Regions from separate parts of the Homo sapiens genome. Here region 1 is linked to region 2. Evidence: promoter capture Hi-C in 16 types of primary human blood cells and fetal thymus (Javierre and others, 2016). All regions are on one chromosome and are shown on one strand. Each heading gives the region's core, a stretch centred on a gene start or on the middle of the fragment in contact. The rest is flanking DNA. Distances are from core to core; before and after follow the strand shown.

What was found. Contacts are between HindIII fragments. The CHiCAGO score rates a contact against its expected background, and 5 or more counts as called.
Region 1: a fragment that was not itself captured here is called in contact with the fragment with the promoter of EPC1 in region 2 in 1 of 17 cell types (erythroblasts); the score reaches 5.9 in erythroblasts.

The regions. Positions count from the first base shown.
Region 1 is chr10:32,029,072-32,036,477 of GRCh38, reverse strand. It overlaps KIF5B (kinesin family member 5B), which reads left to right. Exons shown (of 26, transcript NM_004521.3): 9 at 484-588; 10 at 811-956; 11 at 1,640-1,788; 12 at 2,440-2,633; 13 at 3,704-3,772; 14 at 5,199-5,405. Among named protein-coding and RNA genes, the nearest start is that of KIF5B, 24 kb to the left of the region's middle. The HindIII fragment of the contact is 2,128 bases long and covers 368-2,495 here.
Region 2 is chr10:32,345,873-32,352,429 of GRCh38, reverse strand. EPC1 (enhancer of polycomb 1) reads left to right here and starts at 5,272. Exons shown (of 14, transcript NM_001272004.3): 1 at 5,272-5,667. The coding sequence starts at 5,515. It overlaps EPC1-AS1 (EPC1 antisense RNA 1), which reads right to left and starts at 5,066. Exons shown (of 2, transcript NR_104163.1): 1 at 4,955-5,066. RefSeq lists silencers at 4,682-4,811, 4,822-5,291, 5,962-6,241 and enhancers at 5,562-5,621, 5,642-5,741. The HindIII fragment of the contact is 3,163 bases long and covers 3,029-6,191 here.

The DNA of each region.
Region 1 (7,406 bases), core at 182-2,681, 310 kb after region 2:
ACTGCACTCCAGCCTGGGTGACAGAGTGAGACTCAGTCTCCAAAAAAAAAACACCACAACATAGATATTTAGATATTTTATATATTTTTAAAAGAAGCAGATTTGCTTATATAATGTGTTTAAAACTCAGTCTCTGTTTTCTAACAGTTACAACATCAACATTATGCATTAGCCAATTTTAGAAGGTTCCTGTTTTCTAATGTAGCAAAGGGGACTAACAGATTAATGAACTACAAATTTACATTTAAATTGGTTATTTTCAAGAGTACCTACAAACTACAGATAAAATTTGATGTCTCTCTAATCAAACTCTTAAGAGTAGTACTCAAGAAATGGTGGTATGCTTGGCAAATAAGATCATGAAGCTTTTCATGTTCTTTTTTCTTTTTTACTGGTTATTGATGACATATGAACATTTTAGAAAATGTAAAGAAAATTATAAACTTGTAATTTTGTTTCATTCTTTTGAAATCTTATGTATAGGTTAGTAAAACTGGAGCTGAAGGTGCTGTGCTGGATGAAGCTAAAAACATCAACAAGTCACTTTCTGCTCTTGGAAATGTTATTTCTGCTTTGGCTGAGGGTAGTGTGAGTATACATGTCTTCTATCTCCCTGTTACCTTATGGGGCATTATTTAAATATAGGTGTATATGTGTGCCTGGGTGTGTATGAGAGAGAGAGAGAGAAAGAGAGATTGAGATTCAATGTGTTTGAATCAGTATGTGTAAGTTAGTTGTCTTTTGGGAGTTTATTTTATAATAACATTTTATTATACTGGTCTTGTTTTCTTTCTTTGTTTTTGTATGCAGACATATGTTCCATATCGAGATAGTAAAATGACAAGAATCCTTCAAGATTCATTAGGTGGCAACTGTAGAACCACTATTGTAATTTGCTGCTCTCCATCATCATACAATGAGTCTGAAACAAAATCTACACTCTTATTTGGCCAAAGGTTTGTTGTTAAGAAAGTACAAAACCTAAATTTAGATAGACCTTTTGTTTATAAAATGTAGGAAAATGTGAGCTGTTATTCCAACCTGTACATACTGTTTTGTGCTAGACACACTCAGTTTGAATTGATGACAGATAATACAAGGTGGGTCTGATTTTTAGACTGCTTGGTTTAAGTTTTAGTACACATTAAAGTCAGATGTAATTTTAGTCAAATTTGTGTGACAAGCTGTAATTTGGTATTAAAGAAAATAAGCATTTGAATCAAATAATGAGGTCAAAGCCTGGCAAACATAATCCTCTGTTAAGCCTGTAGACATGCATGACAGGTTAATATAATCTGTATGAGATGATTAGGAAAATCAGTAATGATGATTCCGTCTTTGACTTTCAACAGTAATTTCTTAATTCAGCCTTGCAAACAAATTGGAAAAATATAGGCCTTTGTCTTTTATTTTTAGTGGTTTGTTGATTTTTTTTTTTTTAAAGCTATTCACAGATTTTGGAGCAGACTCAAATTTAGTTGAGTTGTAAATAACGTCATATGTTGCGGCTTTTAGTATTTAGTCTAAGAGATTACTGGACAAGCATAAGTTTCTTAGCCATATATACATATATTCCATATAGATAAAATTAAAAATAATTTCAGTCTCATCCTTTTTTTCCTCCAATTACATCTCTTAGGGCCAAAACAATTAAGAACACAGTTTGTGTCAATGTGGAGTTAACTGCAGAACAGTGGAAAAAGAAGTATGAAAAAGAAAAAGAAAAAAATAAGATCCTGCGGAACACTATTCAGTGGCTTGAAAATGAGCTCAACAGATGGCGTAATGGTAATAACTTAAGAATTTGTCATCTTCAGTTTGTTAAATACAGATTTAGAGCATAGAAACGTAGAAATAGTTCAGCAAAATCAGTAAGTGACTAGATCAAGAAATTTAATAGACATCGAAATAATTTTTAAAAAAATTAATAGAAATCCTGGAGCTGAAAAATAAAATGAGCAAAATGCAAGAGACCATCAGTAGTAGAATTAATTAAGCAGAAGAATCTGAACTTGAAGACAGATTATTTGAAAATAACACAGAGAAGAAAAAGTTTGAAAGAACGAGGCTGGGTGCACTGGCTCATGCCTGTAATCCTAGCACTTTGGGAGGCCAAGGTGGGCAGATCACTTGAGGTCAGGAGTTAGAGACCAGCCTGGCCAACATGTTGAAACCCCATCTCTACTGAAAACACCAAAATTAGCCTGGCATGGTGCTGAGCGCCTGTAATCCCAGCTAATCAGGAGTCTTGAGGCAGTAGAATTGCTTGAACCCTGGAGGCAGAGGTTGCAGTGAGCCTAGATTGCACCACTGCACTCCAGCCAGGGTGACAGATTGAGACTCTGTCTCAAAAAAAAAAAAAAAAATTTTTAAAGGAATGAAATTGAAATTAGCTTTAGACGTCGTTTTTTTATTAACCACTTTATTTTCTTATTTTAGGGGAGACGGTGCCTATTGATGAACAGTTTGACAAAGAGAAAGCCAACTTGGAAGCTTTCACAGTGGATAAAGATATTACTCTTACCAATGATAAACCAGCAACCGCAATTGGAGTTATAGGAAATTTTACTGATGCTGAAAGAAGAAAGTGTGAAGAAGAAATTGCTAAATTATACAAACAGCTTGATGACAAGGTAGGTATTGCTTGATTTAGGTCTGCTTTATATTAGGATACTATTGACATGGGTGTTTTTATTTTCTAACTTTTCTCATTTCAGTGCTGTGGGCACTTAGGATCTTTATGCATCTTCCTTGATTTCTGTTAATCTTGTAAAAATTATTGTATTAACAAAATAAAAAGTCATAATTTCAATTTCTGTGTGGAAACTGTATGAGCATGTATCTTTTCTTCCCCCTCTTTTTAAGCTAAAAGAACTTTATAAGGCAGCAGTCCCCAACCTTTTTGGCACCAGGGACTGGTTTCAGGGAAGACAGTTTTTCCGTGGATCAGGTCGGGGAGATGGTTTTGGGATGAAACTTCCACCTTGGATTATCAGGCATTAGATTCTCATAAGGATCCTCTAACCTAGATCTCTTGCATGCACAGCTGATAATAGAGTTCGCGCTCTTAATGATATTCTAATGCTGCTGATCTGGCAGAAGGCGGAGCTCAAGTGGTAATGCTTGCTGCTCACCTCCTGCTGTGCTTCTTGGTTCCTAACAGGCTTCCAGTACTGCTTTGTGGCCTGGGGGCTTGGGGACCCCTGTTCTAATGAAAATTTGGCATTGGGTCATTGGGAGCCTCAATGATACCAATTGTTAGAATCAGGGCTCTGAAGACTCCAATAAAAGATGATGTGAGAGATTAAGGGAAACACAATAGAGTGGAAATAATATCTTCCTGCTTTGCATATAGAAGTAATGTCAATAGTATGAATAATAGCAAACTAAGAACGTAATAGAATGGAAGGCAAGAACAAGAGTAGTAAAGAGATTAGAAGAAAATATTTTCTTAAGTTGATATTTTTAATATATTTTAAGCAGAGATGGCAGGTTCGAAGTACATGACCATTATAAGTATTGATAATTGAAAGAAATTCCTTTTGTTTTGCCATTTTCTTAAAAGAGATTAAAATAAGCAATGTTGAATTTAGAGAAATGGTTTTGAAATATTTCTGGGGAGTAGTAATCTTATAACCTGTATTGGGAAACAACTAGAACCAGGTTGTTAGCTACTGGTTAACCGGATACTTCACAATTCTAGGATGAAGAAATTAACCAGCAAAGTCAACTGGTAGAGAAACTGAAGACGCAAATGTTGGATCAGGAGGAGGTGAGTTGAATACCTTTTACATTGCTTCCAGAAAAGCTTTATAGTTTTGTTTTCTGAATCCCATTGACTTTGTCTTTAATAGTTGTATAATTTTGGGTATGACTGTCTTTGTGGGAATAAGAATGTCACATGGATAAAGTGAATTTTTACTTATTCATCGTATCTACCCAGATACAATCTGTTGTTCATTTCCGCCATCTTTTTTTTCACCCTGGTTCTTGACATTTCTCTTCTTGTCACTTACTTTGGATCCTCATTTTATCTTCTCACCCAGCAGAGCAGGGGGATAATTGAAAAGCAGTCCTTTAAATTTTTTTGTGGGGGTGGTGGGCAGGGTGAAGACAAAGACTGCTTCGGTAAGAAAGAGATACTCTCCATCAGTGAACTTAATCCTGGTCAGATCATCTTTCAACTATAGCATTTCATATTTCAACTATAGCATTATTCCTCAAAGGGGCACTATTGATATTTTGCATTGGATAATTTATGTTATTCTGTCCTTTGTATTATAGGACATTAAACATTCCTGGTCCCTACTCCTAAATGCCATTAGCATTCTACCCTATTATTAACACTCCCACAGATTTCCGGATATCCCTACAGGAGAGCCACTAATGTGGATGATTGTGGTTTTCTCCTAACTAGTCTCTTGGCATCCCTGCAGTTCAGATTTTATGTGCTGATACCAGGTTTTGTTTTTGTTTTTGAGGCGAAGTCTTGCTCTTGTTCCCCAGGCTGGAGTGCAGCGGCGTGATCTTGGCTCACTGCAACCTCCACCTCCCAGGTTCAAGCGACTCTTCTGCCTCAGCCTCCCGAGTAGCTGGGATTACAGGCGCCCGCCACCACGCCTGGCTAATTTTTTGGTATTTTTAGTAGAGACGGGATTTCACCATGTTGGTCAGGCTGGTCTCAAACTCCTGACCTTGTGATCCGCCCGCCTCGGCCTCCCAAAATGCTGGGATTACAGGCGTGAGCCACCCCGCCTGGCCCAAATCTAAATTTTTAAGCAACTCTTGTAGAATGCCATTTTCCTTTATTACATTAATTTGCATGTGACTGCAGTCGATCTCTCCTAGCCAACTTCTCCATGAATGAATACTCTTTCCTGTATTACTAAGCACTTTATCTGTCCTGTCCCTCTCTTATGGTTCTGACCTTCTATCTTGTACTGCACTTATTCATGTGCCTATCTTCTCTTCTACTGTGTTCCTTAAACACAGTCTTTGATTTTCTTTCTGCCTTGCAGCATCCAGCACAGTGCCTGCACATAGTTGACATTTAGTAAATCTGTTTAATGAATAAATGTTGCCACACTGAATACCATCCATATTTCACTCCATTTGTTCTTGACAAATGGTGAAGCTTCATGGGTGTTTTTTAAAACCTGTATACTTTTGGGGAAAATAAATTATTTTCTGTCCTATAGCTTTTGGCATCTACCAGAAGGGATCAAGACAATATGCAAGCTGAGCTGAATCGCCTTCAAGCAGAAAATGATGCCTCTAAAGAAGAAGTGAAAGAAGTTTTACAGGCCCTAGAAGAACTTGCTGTCAATTATGATCAGAAGTCTCAGGAAGTTGAAGACAAAACTAAGGAATATGAATTGCTTAGTGATGAATTGAATCAGAAATCGGTAGGATATAGTTTTATTTTCTTTTTTAATGCTTTAGTACAAGTATTCTTAACCTAAAAACTACTTAAATAACTTACTTTTCTATGTAAGTCAAATATCGATAACATCAATTTTCAAGGACTCGGGTTTCAACTTCATTTCTTTCTGTATATGAAGCCTTAGAGGTGGAGGAAGACAGTTATTTTAGTTCCTAAAGGTCTGTTAATATCTAATTTAAATGCTGTTTTAGAGGATGTTTGCTACTCCTAATTTTAATTTTTTTAATTTAGTATATAGCATGTAGAATCTAATGTTACTACTAATGTTAAAGGAAAAATAATTTAAAGCTGCTAGTTGCCCAATAAAGCTATTAGATGATTGTTCAAACAATAAATTAAATATGCAGTACAAATTAAAATGCTATTTAATCAACTGTGAATTATTTGGAATAGATGTAAGGATATGTAACTTAACATAATTTATGTTTTACTTACTGTTACATTTCCACTACGTGGAACAGTGCCTTTTTAGCACAGTGTAGTGGTTCCCAATAGATGGAGATTTTTTTTTTTTTTTTTGAGACAAAGTTTCACTCTGGTTGCCCAGGCTGGAGTGCAATGGCGCAATCTTGGCTCACTGCATCCTCTGCCTCCTGGGTTCAATGATTCTCCTGCCTCAGTCTCCCGAGTAGCTGGGATTACAGGCGCCCGCCACCACGCCCGGCTCATTTTGTATTTTTAGTAGCAACAGGGTTTCACCATGTTGGCCAGGCTGGTCTCGAGCTCCTGACCTCAGGTGATCCACCCACCTCAGCCTCCCAAAGTGCTGGGATTACAGGCGTGAGCCACCGTGCCTGGCGACTAGATGGAGATTTTTACTTGCTGAAAATTGATACAGGACAGACATCGCCAACCTCCAACAATGATGACAGAAATAATACATAGCTATGAATGTTTCAACATCATCATGGAGGAGCTATTTTGTGGTTTTGTTGTGGTTAATGCTAGCTTCTTGTTTAGAAATCAGCATCTAGAGTTGCACTCAGGACCCATGTCCACCACTTATTTCCCTGCTCACATTAACTTGTCTAAAAGAAAGCAGTCAACAGTACAAAATAATGCTTTTAAAAGGTTTCCTGCCCCTATGAGTTCCTTTTCTCTTTTTAATCTACAAAGTTACAGTTAGCTTGAAGTTAACATTCAGTACTGTACAGATCTAAGACACCATTATAACTAACTCTTACTGAGTTGCATTATTAACAAAGCTAATTGTTGTATGAAAGAATAACAGGAGTTTTTTACAACTCTGAAAGGTGGTCCTTGGCCGCTGATTTTAGTCTTTAAGACAGTTATATTTATGTTTCACTTGTGGAGCTGAAATCTATCAGCATTACATTGATAATAGGAGTTAGAAATCCCTAGTGTTTAGCATCTGTTTATATGCTTAGACAGTGTTGCTGTTCAGTTAGAGAGTGTCTGGTAATTTAAACAATTATGGTAGAAGCATGCTATATTATGAGACTTGAAGATAATTGGTATCATATTGTAGATTAACCTGGGTGGATACATACTCTACTGATACTCAGAAACTTAAGGAAATGACGAACTACCATAAGAAATAAGCAGTTGGAATGATGGCATCTTTACTAAAAGATACTGATGAAAAGTCAATAAATGGCATTACAAATACAGTATAGTACAGGCATTACAAATACAGAAGCCCCAAGCGTTTCAGATTTTGGAATGTTTGCATTATACTTACCAGTTGAGCATTTCTAATTGGCAAGTCCAAAATGCTTCAGTGAGCATTTTCTTTGAGCATCATGCAAGCACTCAAAAAGTCCCAGATTTTCGAGCACTTCGGAGTGGGGATGCTCACCTTGTATCTGTTCTGCCATATGAGTTATTTTAAAGTGGGCACCAAACTGGGTTGGACTTTTCAAAATTTGGTGATTTTGTAGCTGTTAAGCCAGCTATGATTTGAGATTTATAATGATAGTCATTAAACTCAGATAATATTACT
Region 2 (6,557 bases), core at 4,023-6,522:
CAAAACATTCCTGTGAAATAGGATTTCGGTAGACAGTCTGAGGCAGGACAGGGAGGACAGACTGAAAAGAATCAATACAGCTGGGCGGGGCGCAGTGGCTCACTCCTGTAATCCCAGCACTTTGGGAGGCTGAGGCGGGTGGATCACGAGGTCAGGAGATCGAGACCATCCTGGCTAACACAGTGAAACCCCATCTCTACTAAAAATTAAAAAAAAAATTAGCCGGGCGTGGTGGCAGGTGCCTGTAGTCCCAGCTACTCAGGAGGCTGAGGCAGAAGAATGGCGTGAACCTGGGAGGCGGAGGTTGCAGTGAGCCGAGATTGCGCCACTGCACTCCAGCCTGGGCGACAGAGCGAGACTCTGTTTCAAAAAAAAAAAAAAAAAAAATCAATATGGCTGGGCACGATGGTTCATGCCTGTCATCCCAGCACTTTGGGAGGACGAGGTGGGTGGATCACCTGAGATCAGGAGTTTGAGACCAGCCTGGCCAACATATGGTGAAACCCTGTCCTTACTAAAAAAAATACAAAAATTAGCCGGGCGTGATGGCGCACACTTGTAATCCCAGCTACTTGTGAAGCTGAGGTAGGAGAATCACTTGAACCCGGGAGGTGGAGGTTGCAGTGAGCCGAGATCACGCCACTGCACTCCAGCCTGGGCAACAGAGCAAGACTCCATCTCTCAAAATAAAATAAATAAATAAATAAATAATCAAAAGAATGAATAAAAACCTGGAGGCAGGAAAGACACGCTGATTTTTTTTCTTTTTTTAAGATGGAGTTTCGCTCTTATTGCCCAGCCCGGAGTGCAATGGTGCAATCTCGGCTCACTGCAACCTCCACCTCCCGGGTTAAAGCGATTCTCCTGCCTCAGCCTCCTGAGTAGCTGGGATTACAGGCGTGCACCACCATGCCTGGCTAATTTTTTGTATTTTTAGTAGAGATAGGGTTTCATCATGTTGGCCAGGCTGGTCGTGAACTCCTGACCTCAGGTGATCCACTCTCCTCGGCCTCCCAAAGTACTGGGATTACAGGCATGAGCCACCGCACCCAGCCGACATGCTGATTTCTGAAGATGGTGATGAGACTGCTAGCTAGAGTGAAAAGCTTGTCTTAAGCAATAATGACAAACGATGTTGGACAGAGTGGGGCAAAATTACAGGAGGTCTTGACAACCAAACACTCGAAAATTTGGCTTTATCTAATGGGCAAAACAAGAGCAGTTATAAAGATATGACTTGGGGAAGGGAAGATACAGAATGAAGTACAGTTTTTGGCACACTGACTTGGTGACATGCATTGTGAGGCCCCAGGGACCCAGAGCCTCTGCTTCCACTTTTGGTTACCACTAGCCACCAACAGAAGAGTACCAGCACAGTTTCCTATAAAGTGAGGGCTTTAAAAAGGTTTATTGAGGGAATGAGTAAATAAAGGATGGACTGAATAAATAAAGGATGAATGGGAGGCTGTTTCTAGGGGTGAAGTGATCAGAGTTGGGACTATGTTTAAGACAATGGAAATGGAAATTGGGAAGTAAATCCCAGAAACAATTTCAAAGAAGAAATCATAAGACTTGGATACATACCGAACATAAACTACTATTTAGAGCTGTATTTCAAATGTATTAGTTACCACAGAATGCAGTGTCAGAGCAGTTGCCTTTGGCATATTCTAAGTTTTTGTTAAGTAGAAATTCTGTATTTGGAACAGAAATCACATTTCTTGTGCTATTATATGTAATGATTATTACCATGAAAACTCATGTCTCTTTACTTTCTACTCCTACTCCATCCACCCAAGTTCTTACCAGTTTTATCTCCTAATTGGCTTGTTGTTGGAGTCTCCTACTGAACTCCGGCCAAATAAACCTCCTCATCCTCAATCATACCTGACAGTTGCCGCCTCTCACCCTTTTGTTCATACAGTTGCGTTCCCCCATGAATGTTCTTTCTTCTATAATAGCATTTCATTCCCATGAGCAGTTGAAACCTTAGCCATCCTTCAGAATCAGATCGCATGCTGCTTCTCCATGCTGTCTGATCAACCCAGATGGGACCTACTGCTCTCTTTTCTGAACTCCCATAGCCACTGCATTTCATTATACTGCCTTGCCACTTGGGCAACTGGGTATCCATTTACCAGTGTTTTATTTGTATCCCCTACAATGACAGTACTGTGTGTTACCTGGTTATCCAATACATATTTGTGACATCAAACTATCTTAAATACTCCAAATCCTTTCCCAAACAAGAGTTTCCCTCTGCCGTTAGGGTATTCACCTTTGCCCTAGCATACATTGTTTGCAACATCGAGAATTTCACATCACTTTTGTTGGGGATACTTAGAAAAAGAAGGAATTTTAAGTTGAGAACAGAAAAGAATTTTTAAAGTGAAAGTACAGGATTAACCATTTTTTCAAGGAATCTTTCGGACAGATAAAAGAATCTAGGGAAAACTAAACCTGAATCTTTACTGCTGCCTTCCTGTCCCTTAAGGTGAAGAAAAGTGAACTGCATAAAAAAGAGGCATGGGTCCGAACGCAGTGGCTCACACCTGTAATCCCAGCACTTTGGGAGGCCGAGGTGGGAGGACTGCTTGAGGTCAGGAGCTCAGGAGCAGCCTGGGCAACAGAGGGAGGCCCTGTCTTTAGAAAAAATTTAGAAATTAGCAGGGTATGGTGGCATGTACCTTTAGTCCCAGCTACTGATGGCTGAGGCAGGAGGATCACTTGAGCCCAGGAGTTCAAGCCTGCAGTAAGCCATGATCACAACACTGAACTCAGGCCTGGGAGATAGAGACACTGTCTCTAAAAAACAAAAATTTCAAAAAAGGGTTTTTTTGTTTGTTTGTTTGTTTTAATTTTATAAAAGAGGCTTGGGACTCCAGCCTTTGAGTCCTTGGGAACCCAGAAGGACCTGAGAGTTGGAAATCCACAGCATTGAGGAGACGGATAAAGGAATGATGAGAAAAAGGTGTCTCTTAGCAGGCATATAATATTATCTGCCAAAAGGCAAGTGAATCTGTAAGCTTATCTGTGAATTTGCCACGGAGGGTGATTTTAGACTCTCTAGAGAATAAGAAATTTTTTTGTACTCCACCCATTATTACTAATGTAGGATGTGGAAATAGTTATTTTGTTGTTTACTGTTATTTTAATGAGGGTAGAAATAATTCATTTCCTTGGTTCACTCTTGACTTACTCTATTTTGTTCTTAAAATCTTAGGCTCCTCAATTATGAATTCTACTGCTAGGACTTTCAGGAACCTAATGTTGTAGGCTGGAGAGGGCTGTCAGAATAATATTCAGCCAGTATTTTCGGAACTGTTAAACCTGGCTAAACAGGTGTCATTCCACAGTGAAGTTGGCAATTCTTGAGGCTCCCAGAAAGTGACTGCTATCTAATGACTCAGCTTGTGGATACGTCGCTACCGTTGTCTTAAGATACCTTTCTTCCCTTCATTTTTACTTTTTTTGCAAAGTTAACCCACACTTATCCTACATAATTTTACTCAGATATCATCTCTTCCAAAAAGTCTTCCCTTGCTACTTCATTAGAACTACTCTCCTGGGTTGGGCGCCACTCTTGCCCCTTCCCACAGTGGCCTGGGCTTCCACCATAACACTTAGCTCGCCGTGTGGCAGTTGCCATTCGCGGGTCCTTCTCCCCACTGTGTAAGCTCCTCCAGGAGCCCTGTGGGTGCCAAGCTGACTTGGAAGGCTATGAGGGCTCAATACACACCCTCAATACTCATTGAATGAATAAAGGCACGGTCTCTGTGTAGGAAATGCAGGTGAACGTCCTTATGCCTCACTTAAGTGAGCTGCCAATATCGGAGTTTAAGTATAATTTTGGAGAACTGCAATCCGTCCTGTTTTCTCCCTACCCCGCGGGAGCTGGCTAAACCAGCCTGGAGGCTAGCAGTTTGCCTGTGTGCCCTAAGCTAGTGACAGCTCATATCAAGCCCAGTATTTAAGGAGCGTGATTACTTTTACTACGTAGTTCCCAGGGAGAAAAGCAACTCAAAACATTTTTGTATCTTTTTGTATCTTGTTGCACAAGATACAAAATTGTGCACTAAGATACAAATTGAAACTCGAATTGAAATTTGGCTGCCAATTTATTAAACCCACCCCAACAATCTTCCCTATTAACAACAACAACAACGAAGAGATCTCAGGATACCCATTTTCATGTGTAATATAAACCGATGCCACCCATCTATCATATCCATCTAAATCTAATAATTCAGCTTTTTGTTTGGCGGGAGTACGACAGGTCTTTATATGATTCAATGTTACAAAGTTTTTCAGAGGACAAATGATGAAAGTGTGAACCCACGGCTATGATGAAGCCGCAGTCTCTTTGAGTACAGAATCATGAGCTAGATATAAAGAACTGGCTTTAAATTCTGAAGTAGATCTTGCTTTTAAATGTTATAGTGGTGGGTAATAATTTCCTTTGCTTCAGTTACTATTTAAAAAGTAAATATGTGTAGATGAAAATGCAGGATTTAAAAAAATCTACTTTGTAGAATAGGATACCTATCATTTATATTAAGCCCAATGCGTGGGAAACGGATCAATGACTTGATGCGGTGCCTATAAAACATTATAATCCAAAGTTGCATTAGGACATAAAAATAACTGCTGATAAAAGTTTACTCAAAGTAGCATCTGCCCCTAATTCAGTTTGTATTTTTATCGTAAAGACCTAAGGCGCCGCGGGAACTAGGCTGTGCGTTCGCCCCCCGCGGCAGACGGCGGCGCGCGGCGCCTCTGGAGCGCCCCTCCGAAGCCCCGTGGGGGCGGCCGTGGCCCCGGGGCAGCCGCTGGCGAGCACCCCAGAGGTCCGAGCCCTCCGAGCCCCAGGTGCCCGGGGCCCGAGCCCCGCCTGCCACTCTCCCCAGCTGCCTTTCCAAACGGCGGCGTGCTGGTGGAGAGAGTTTTCCCGCACCTTGTTCGCCCGTCAGAAAGCGGCGCCGGGAGGGAGCGAGCGTGAGAAAGTGAGCGTGTGCGCTGCAGGAGAGCACGACCCAAGAGCCGGCGCCCGGTGTCCGAGCGCCCAGTCCGCCCTGTCCGCCCCCGGACCCGCGAAGGGCGGGGGCCCGGAGCAGCGAGGCGCGGGAAGCGAGGCCGGCGGGTGCCGGGGGTTGGCGGGACGCGCGCTTCGTGCCGGCGCCGGCCTCGAGCCCGCGCTCCCTCCCCCCGCCCGCGTGCCCGCGCCGCTGCGCGATGCAGTGTGGGGAATGGCTGGGGTTGGCTGAAGAGCGCACAGTGGAGTTTTAATGTCCGCCATGTTGGCCATGGCGTATTGAAGAGAGCGAGCGAGAGAGGAGCGGAGCGGCACAGCCTCCCACCCTCCCGGCTGGTGTTAGTGCCCGGACGGCGGGCTCTGCGCTCCGCCCCTCAAGTCCCCGGCAGCGGTTGGCGAGTGGGGACCGAACCCCCGGTTCTCCATGATCCCGCTGGCCGGGGCCGTTTCCCCAGAGCGGAGAGGTATCTGCTGCGCCTGAGATGAGTAAACTGTCGTTTCGGGCGCGGGCGCTAGACGCCTCGAAGCCGCTGCCGGTTTTCCGCTGTGAGGATCTGCCCGACCTGCACGAATACGCCTCGATAAACAGGGCCGTGCCGCAGATGCCCACCGGAATGGAGAAGGAAGAGGAGTCGGTACGTGTTAACTCCCCTGTCCGACCCACCGTCAGGCCCGCTCCCTCTGCTGCCTGCGGCGGCGGCGGAGCAGCAAACCCACACAAAATGGCCGCCATCTTCTCTTCGCCGCCGACTCTCAGTCGCCGGCCGGGCCTATACCCCGCCTCCCCCAGCCTCGACCCCCGGCCGCCGCGGCCCAGCGGGGCCCCTTCTAAGGCCACCCGCTGACCCTGGCCACTTGTACCCGGGTCCCGCGGAGTTCGGGGGCCCGAAAGGCACAAAGGGGTCACGTGACGAAGCTGCCGGCAGCCATTTTGTGTCTTAGTTCTTGGGTTGGGCCTTGTGCATCCGGAGAGGGGAACGGGCTGGGTGGCTGTGGGGGTGCGGCGAGTCGGGAGCCGTGGAGGACCCGCCTACAGGCCTCTCCGTGGGCCGCTGGGTGGCGCTCCAGGGCCACTGCGGCCTGCGCGCCGCTGCCCGGGCCGGGAGCGCAGGTTCTGTGCACAGTCGGGGAATTTGATTGCCCCATGGTCTGGGAAGCTTGTTGGGCTCAGTGCAGCCCCCACGTGGAGCCTCAGACGGGCATGTCATGTCGCCTGCTGCTCTATGAGGCTTTTCTCCCCCTCTGCAAGGAAATGTCGAGGGTGCAGCGTGTTTGCCCGGACGACTTACTTTTCTAGAAGATAAGACTTACTTTCAGTGTCCTCTTTCTGGGACGTTTGTATCCATCCCTCTCCAGAGCTAGTTGGTCGGAGGATAATAAACCACTATCCCTGACTTTTTCTGTGATCCTTGCGAATATCTTGCAGATTTGTTTGGAGTACCTCTCTCTTCTGAAGCCTGTAACCTTACCTATTTGTAAAATAAATTTAAGTTCTCCTGCTCTCTGGTATCTCAACATAGGGGGA